Linked DNA regions of Homo sapiens: region 2 is linked to region 1. Evidence: promoter capture Hi-C in 16 types of primary human blood cells and fetal thymus (Javierre and others, 2016). All regions are on one chromosome and are shown on one strand. Each heading gives the region's core, a stretch centred on a gene start or on the middle of the fragment in contact. The rest is flanking DNA. Distances are from core to core; before and after follow the strand shown. Region 1 holds the start of VN1R1 (vomeronasal 1 receptor 1). Region 2 overlaps ZNF569 (zinc finger protein 569).

The links. Contacts are between HindIII fragments. The CHiCAGO score rates a contact against its expected background, and 5 or more counts as called.
Region 2: a contact is called between a fragment that was not itself captured here and the fragment with the promoter of VN1R1 in region 1, in 2 of 17 cell types (non-activated CD4 T cells and naive CD8 T cells). The highest score is 8.0, in non-activated CD4 T cells.

Annotation. Positions count from the first base shown.
Region 1 is chr19:57,455,647-57,459,205 of GRCh38, forward strand. It overlaps VN1R1 (vomeronasal 1 receptor 1), which reads right to left and starts at 1,494. Exons shown (of 1, transcript NM_020633.4): 1 at 1-1,494. The coding sequence starts at 840. The HindIII fragment of the contact is 5,648 bases long and covers 1-1,927 here.
Region 2 is chr19:37,407,885-37,411,314 of GRCh38, forward strand. It overlaps ZNF569 (zinc finger protein 569), which reads right to left. Exons shown (of 6, transcript NM_152484.3): 6 at 3,273-3,430. Among named protein-coding and RNA genes, the nearest start is that of ZNF527, 39 kb to the left of the region's middle. The HindIII fragment of the contact is 2,024 bases long and covers 715-2,738 here.

The DNA of each region.
Region 1 (3,559 bases), core at 244-2,743:
GCTCACCAGGACCATGATGGTGTGTGTGGCTCTGGCTTCCTGGGAAGGTCTGCAGGAGAGTCTGTTGCTGTGATTGTGTTGGACTTGCTGCTTGTGTCTGTAGAGGAAGAAGACCATGGAGCCACTGGCCCAGACCATGAAGCCCAAACTCATAAAATCAGGGGAAAAATATAAGACTGCATGTAATGAGCTAAATCTCTTTGATGCTTTGTAAGAACAGTATCCATAATTGTTTTTTGCACTACTGTTTTTGCTATTCAGTGGGCCATTCACTAATAGAAGAACAGATGCATTCATCAAGACATGGGGGGCCCAGCAGAGGAGACAACAGAAGTCAATAAACCTTGGGGATCTAATCTTGATCTCCATCCACCTGCATATACTGGGGTTGAGCTTAATGGCTTGGAATCCATTGAGAAGGCAGATGGTGCTGAGGGAAACTCTTGTGCCCACCCTGTGATAATAAAAGACAAACTTACATCCAGTGTCATTCAGCAAATATTTCAATCCAAAAGCTGCCATTGTCTGAGGTATCCCTTTAAAGAAAAGGACCATGGAGTTAGCCAAGGCCAGTTGGCTGAGAATCAAGTCCGTGGGTCTCAGCTTGTGTCCAGTGAACAAAATTAAGTTATAAAAACAAAGGAGAAAGGAATTTCCCAGGATCCCAACTCCAGTCTGAATGAGGAAGCTAATCCCTGATTTTACTTTTCCAAAAGCCATTTCATCAAAATCTAGGGGATGTTGATTTTCATTGAGGTCTGAAGAATCAGTAGAATAAAAAAGCAGAAAGAAGTATCTTGTCATCAGTGGAGACAGAAGTTTTAATGTGTCTCCAACCATATTTTCTCATCTTAAACAGAAATTAAGATTGTCCCTGTTCGTGCAAAGGCAATTGCTTGTGTGTCCAACTGCAGAGAAGCAGGTGAATGAATGAGGGCTCAACCGCACAACAGATCCACAAATCAAACCTATAAAACTCAGGGCTTACACACATGCAACAAGTAAATACAAGCAAAACTAGGGAAATATATAAAAACAGAACACAGAAGAGTCAATATCATTAGAGTGATATTATACTATAGTTTGCAAAATGTAATCATGACGGAACCCTGGGTAATATGGACAGGGCTTTTTCTGTATTATTTCTTATGACTGCTTGTGAGTCTACACTTATTTCAATAAAACCTTCAATTAAGTAGCCTGGAGATATGAAAAGCAAAAATAATACACCATAAAACCTTTTCCACACTAATATTTTAGTAAACACCATTGTTATTGATGCATTGAAACAAATTTTAGGCCGGGTGCAGTGGCTCACACCTGTAATTCCAGCACTTCGGGAGGCCAAGATGGAGACCATCCTGGCCAACATGGTGAAACCCTGTCTCTACTAATAATACAAAATACTAATAATACAAAAATTAGCCGGGCATGGCGGCGCGTGCTAGTCCCAGCTACTCGGGAGGCTGAGGCAGGAGAATCGCTTGAACCTGGGAGGCAGAGGTTGCAGTGAGCTGAAATCAAACCATTGCCCTCCAGCCTGGGCGACAGAGCGAGACTCTGTCTCAAAAAAAAAAAAAAAAGAAATTAAAAAAACGCTACAATACAATTGGTAACAAGGCCTTCAGCACAGTACAAATGCTAACTTGAAGAATTTTTAAAAACTATAATTTTTGGAACAATCAACATTGCATCATGGTATATTTTATTTTAAGCACATATATTTCTGTTATTTTCCACCGGACAGGTCTAGAGATTGTGAATTGACTCCGTAGAAATAACCATGACCACCTTGAGCCCACACATTTTTATCTCAATGCCATTTCTCACAAGTAAATGCAAAAGATCCTGAAAATAAATACTAATCCCAGAAACACCTAAGATATCCTTAAAACTTGTTAAATAGGAAATTCAATATGTTCCAGAAAGCTTGGGTTTATTTTTAGGGAAAGATAATTCAATTGGGAGGGAATTTCATTGCACAATATTCATATATATCAATCACAAAAGAAATAGTAACTGCGGCCAGGCACGGTGGCTCACGCTTGTAATCTCAGCACTTTGGGAGGCTGAGGCGGGTGGATTACAAGGTCAGGAGATGGAGACCATCCTGGCCAACATGGTGAAACCCCGTCTCTACTAAAAATACAAAAATTAGCTGGGTGTTGTGGTGCGTGCCTGTAGTCCCAGCTACTCGGGAGGCTGAAGCCTCCTGGGTTCACGCCATTCTCCTGCCTCAGCCTCCTGAGTAGCTGGGACTACAGGCGCCCACCACCACGCCCGGCTAGTGTGTGTGTGTGTGTGTGTGTGTGTGTGTGTGTGTTTAGTAGAGACGGGGTTGCACCGTGTTAGCCAGGATGGTCTCGATCTCCTGACCTCGTGATCCGCCCGCCTCGGCCTCCCAAAGTGCTGGGATTACAGGGATGAGCCACCTCGCCCGGCCATAATTTAGATTCTTTTGGTGTCTCTATGGAATTGCTATCATCAGGGAAAATTATGAGGTATTTTCTCCCATGAATAACTACATCTCTTTAGGGGTGGAGCAATCAATAACACAGCAGTATCAAGATTCTCAGGCGAGAGGTGGCTCACGCCTGTAATCCCAGCAGTTTGGGAGGCCGAGGCTGGTGGATCAGCTGAGGTCGGGAGTTCGAGACCAGCCTGACCAACAGGGAGAAACCCCGTCTCTACTAAAAATACAAAAATTAGTCAGAGGTGGTGGCGCATGCCTGTAATCCCAGCTACTCGGGAGGCTGAGGCAGGAGAATCGTTTGAACCCCAGAGGCGGAGGTTGCAGTGAGCCGAGATCATGCCATTGCACTCCAGCCTGAGCAACAAGAGTGAAACTCGGTCTCAAAAAAAAAAAAAAAAAACTCAGGCTCTGAGGTATGAAAACCTTTTAGATTCCCACAAACCACTTGTTGACAAATGTTTTTCCTATTTATATGAACTCATCATTTATTTTCAAGATAGTTCCTGATTCTTTGCTTTAATCTCTTATTTTGCTCCATTGTCCTAGTTGTATAATTTATTTCCAATATGCATTTGGTTTCCTATTTTTTCAGCTTCTCCTTATAAAGTACCATTTTTACTATGACTATTTTGAAAGCTTCTTGTATGTATAAAGTTAGTGTGATTATTGACTTTAACATACCACCTCCTTCTCCTCCTAGCCTCAGAAAGAAGTGTTGGTAACTGGTGAGAATTTTCAGACAGATTTTCCTTTTTTTTTTTAATTTAATTTAATTTTTTTTTCTTTCTTTGCTTTCTTTTTTTTTTTTTTTTGAGACAGAGTCTCACTCTGTTGCCCAGGCTAGAGTGCAGTGGCGCTATCTCGGCTCACTGCAAACTCCACCTCCCACGTTCAAGCGATTCACCTGCCTCAGCCTCCTGAGTATCTGGGATTACAGGCGCCTGCCACTGCGCCTGGCTAAATTTTTTTTGTATTTTTAGTAGAGATGGGGTTTCACCATGTTGGCCCGGCTGGTCTCGAATTCCTGACCTCGTGATCCACCCACCTTGGCCTCCCAAAGTGCTGGGATTACAGGCGTGAGCCACC
Region 2 (3,430 bases), core at 477-2,976, about 20 Mb before region 1:
GTTCCCATCTTTATGTCCATGTGTACCCATGTAGTACCCTTATTAACTGTGTTGTGGAGCTTACACATGAGAAAGGCACTTTCTTGGATTCGTGTACATGGCTCAAGAGAAAATGGTTAGAACTGATAGAGACCCTGCCAGGCCGGTAGCTCATGCCTGTAATCCCAGCACTTTGGGAGGGCGAAGGCGGGTTAATCACTTGAGGTCGGGAGTTTGAGAACTGATAGAGACCTTAATTACCTGGTCGCTGTTTTTTCAACTGGGATTCCAGGAAGGAATCTCTGGTTAGATCCCACAGTATTCACAACTGATCCTTCCTGCTGTTGACTGATGGGAGCAAAGCTCCACCCAGATTACCTATCTCAATTAGGTTCTTTGAAACTCAGGCCACGTTAGGGATAAAAACAATGGAATTCTATCTGTACAAGTGACTGTTACTCTAGTATAGGGCAATCCCATTTCTCCTTTAAATATCATCTCTTTTTTAAAAATTTTTAGAGTTGGGGGTACATGTGCAGGTTACCTGGGTATATTGTGTGATGCTGAGGTCTGGGGTATAAATGACCCTGCCACCCACGTACTGAGCACGATACCCACTGGTTACTTTTTCAATCCTTGCCCCCTTTTATGTTTTCATTGACTCTTATGTTTTGGTCTTTGAAGATTGCTTAACTGATTTTCTCCCAGAAGTCAGCTTTAAAATCCCATTCCAGAAGCTTACTGACAATTTATAAGGCCAGAAAAGTAAAAAGCAAGCATATAGATTGGAAAGAACAAAACATAACTGGCCCCATTTGCAGATGATATTATTTCTACATAGAAAATCTAAAGGAATTTACAAACAAGAATATCACACACACACATCCAGTGAAGCAGTTAAGTTTAAATCTAATACATTTACCGGAGCTAAAAATTACAAAACAATGATTAAAACTGATGAACTCAAAGAAGACCTACATAAGACACATACTGTGTTTATGGAGTGGAAGGCTTAGTATAGTAAAGACTTCCATTCTTCCACAATGAAATAAAGGCTTAATGCAATTTCTATGAAAATTTAAGCAGGGCTTTTGAAAACACAGACAGGCTGATCCAAAATTTATATGGAAGAGCAAAGAAAGTGGAATAGATAAATAAATTTTGAAAATGAATAATAGGTCAGGTGTGGTGGCTCACGCCTGTAATTCCAGCATTTTGGGAGACCAAGGCCAGAGGATTCCTTGAACTCAAGAGTTTGAGACCAGCCTGGGCAACATGGCAAAACCATCTCTACTCAAAATACAAAAATTAGCTGAGTGTGCTGACACACACGTCTAGTCTCAGCTACTTGGCTTGGAGAATCATCTGATTCTGCAGTGAGCTATGACTAGAACCATTGCACTCCAGCCTGGGTGACAGGAGTGAGACCCTGCCTCAAAAAAAAAAAAGAAAAAGAAAAAGTAAAAAAATGAGAGCAATCAGTATACAGCTATAGTAATCAAGACAGTGTGGCATTGATAGAGGGATAGATGCATAGATTTTTGGAAAAGAGCATTCAGAAACACAGAAGTAGGCCAAGCAATTCAATGGAGAAACAATATTTTTTTTCAACAAATAGCACTGTAACAAGTAGACATCCAAAAAATGAACCTTGACCTAAATTTTATTCCTTATAAAAAGTTAACTCAAAATGTATCATAGACTAATTTTCACATTCAGCTTTAAAATTTTTGTGTCTGCAATAAACTGAAAACAAAACTATTTTTAGAATGCAAGTAACTGACAAAGGATTTGTGTCCAGAATATATTGTAACACACACAAAAAAGAAAAAAATCCATTATGAAAAAACTATAGAGATAGAGAATAGACTAGTAATTGCCAGGGGTTAGGGATGGGGAGTGAGGAGGACAGGAAGATGGGTGTGACTATAAATGGATAGAACAAGGGACCTTTGTGGTGCTGTCAGTTTTATAGATTGACTATGGGGAGTGGCAGTTACACTAATCTGTGCATGAGATAAAACTGTATAGAACTGTACAGACACATACACAAGTGCCTATAAAACTGGTAATGTTTGTGGATTGTACCAATGTCAAATTTGATTCTGTACTGTTATATAAGGTGTTACCATTAGGAGAAACGAGGTGTGGGGTACAAGGACTAAATAGTACTATACAGCATTATCTGTATAACTTCCTATAAATCCATAATTGTTTCCAAGAAAAACATTTTTGAAGTTCCAGTAGAAAAAAACAGACTTAATATATGAATAGACTATTCACAGAAAATGAAATTGGAGGCAACATATTTGTTTTTTTGTTTGTTTTTTGAGATGGAGTCTCACTCTGTTGCCCAGGCTGGAATGCAGTGGCGTGATCTCAGCTCACTGCAACCTCTGCCTCCTGGGTTCAAGCAATTCTCGTGCTTCAGCCTCCCAAGTAGCTGGGATAAGAGGCACACACAACCACACCCAGCTAATTTTTGTATTTTTAGTTGAGACGGGGTTACACCATGTTGGCCAGGCTGCTCACAAACTCCTGACCTCAAGTGATCCACCTGCCTCAGCCTCCCAAAGTGCTGGGATTACAGGTGTGAGCCACCACTGCACCTGGCCACGACATAAATATTTGAAAGGCCTGAATATAAAACATCTGTGGAACAGAATGAAGTGAATTTTTCACATCCACTGGGCCCTTACCTGGCATACATAAAATCACCAGCATCTGCATCCCCATTTATTGATCCAGAAACAAAGAAAAGCTTTGTTGAGATATATAGAAATTGCTTCTACTCTAACACCAATAACTATTCTTGGCTTGATATATTAGAATGTAAACTATATTTTACAGTATGCATGAATGGTCTCTTTCCTTCACTCCAAAACCAACCCAAATGAAGGTGGATTTCTTTCCCCAAATGGATAGCCAATTATCCCAATAATAAAATAATTGTTTTGTTTCTATACTCAACTAGAAAAAAATTTGAGTTTAAAATTAAAAATTGGCCTCAAATAAATGCGAAAATACTGCTGATTTTATTATTCCAATTAACATGAAGAGACAGTAAACAAAATAATACCTTGTCAGGTATGTTTTGTGTAAAGACAATCTTCTATAAATGTTAGTATCTGATCAAGAATAAAAATCCATTTTAAAATTATTTCTCCAGGCCCAGGTTTCCCCCACCCATTTGATTCTTATTTTTGAGAAATTAGGAAAATAAAAGCAAGAAAAAACAATTTTAAAAACCCATATAATTAATTTGGACAACCAGATTTGTCACCACTGTCATATTTGCTTTCACTCTTTTATTAAAGAAATATTACAGATAAATATAACAACTCCCACCAAACCTTTCCCACATCCCAAAAGGCAACCAAGTCATATATGGATCCATGACCAATACACAGTACTGTTCTTTGCAAGATCTTATTAAATTATACAAATGTTA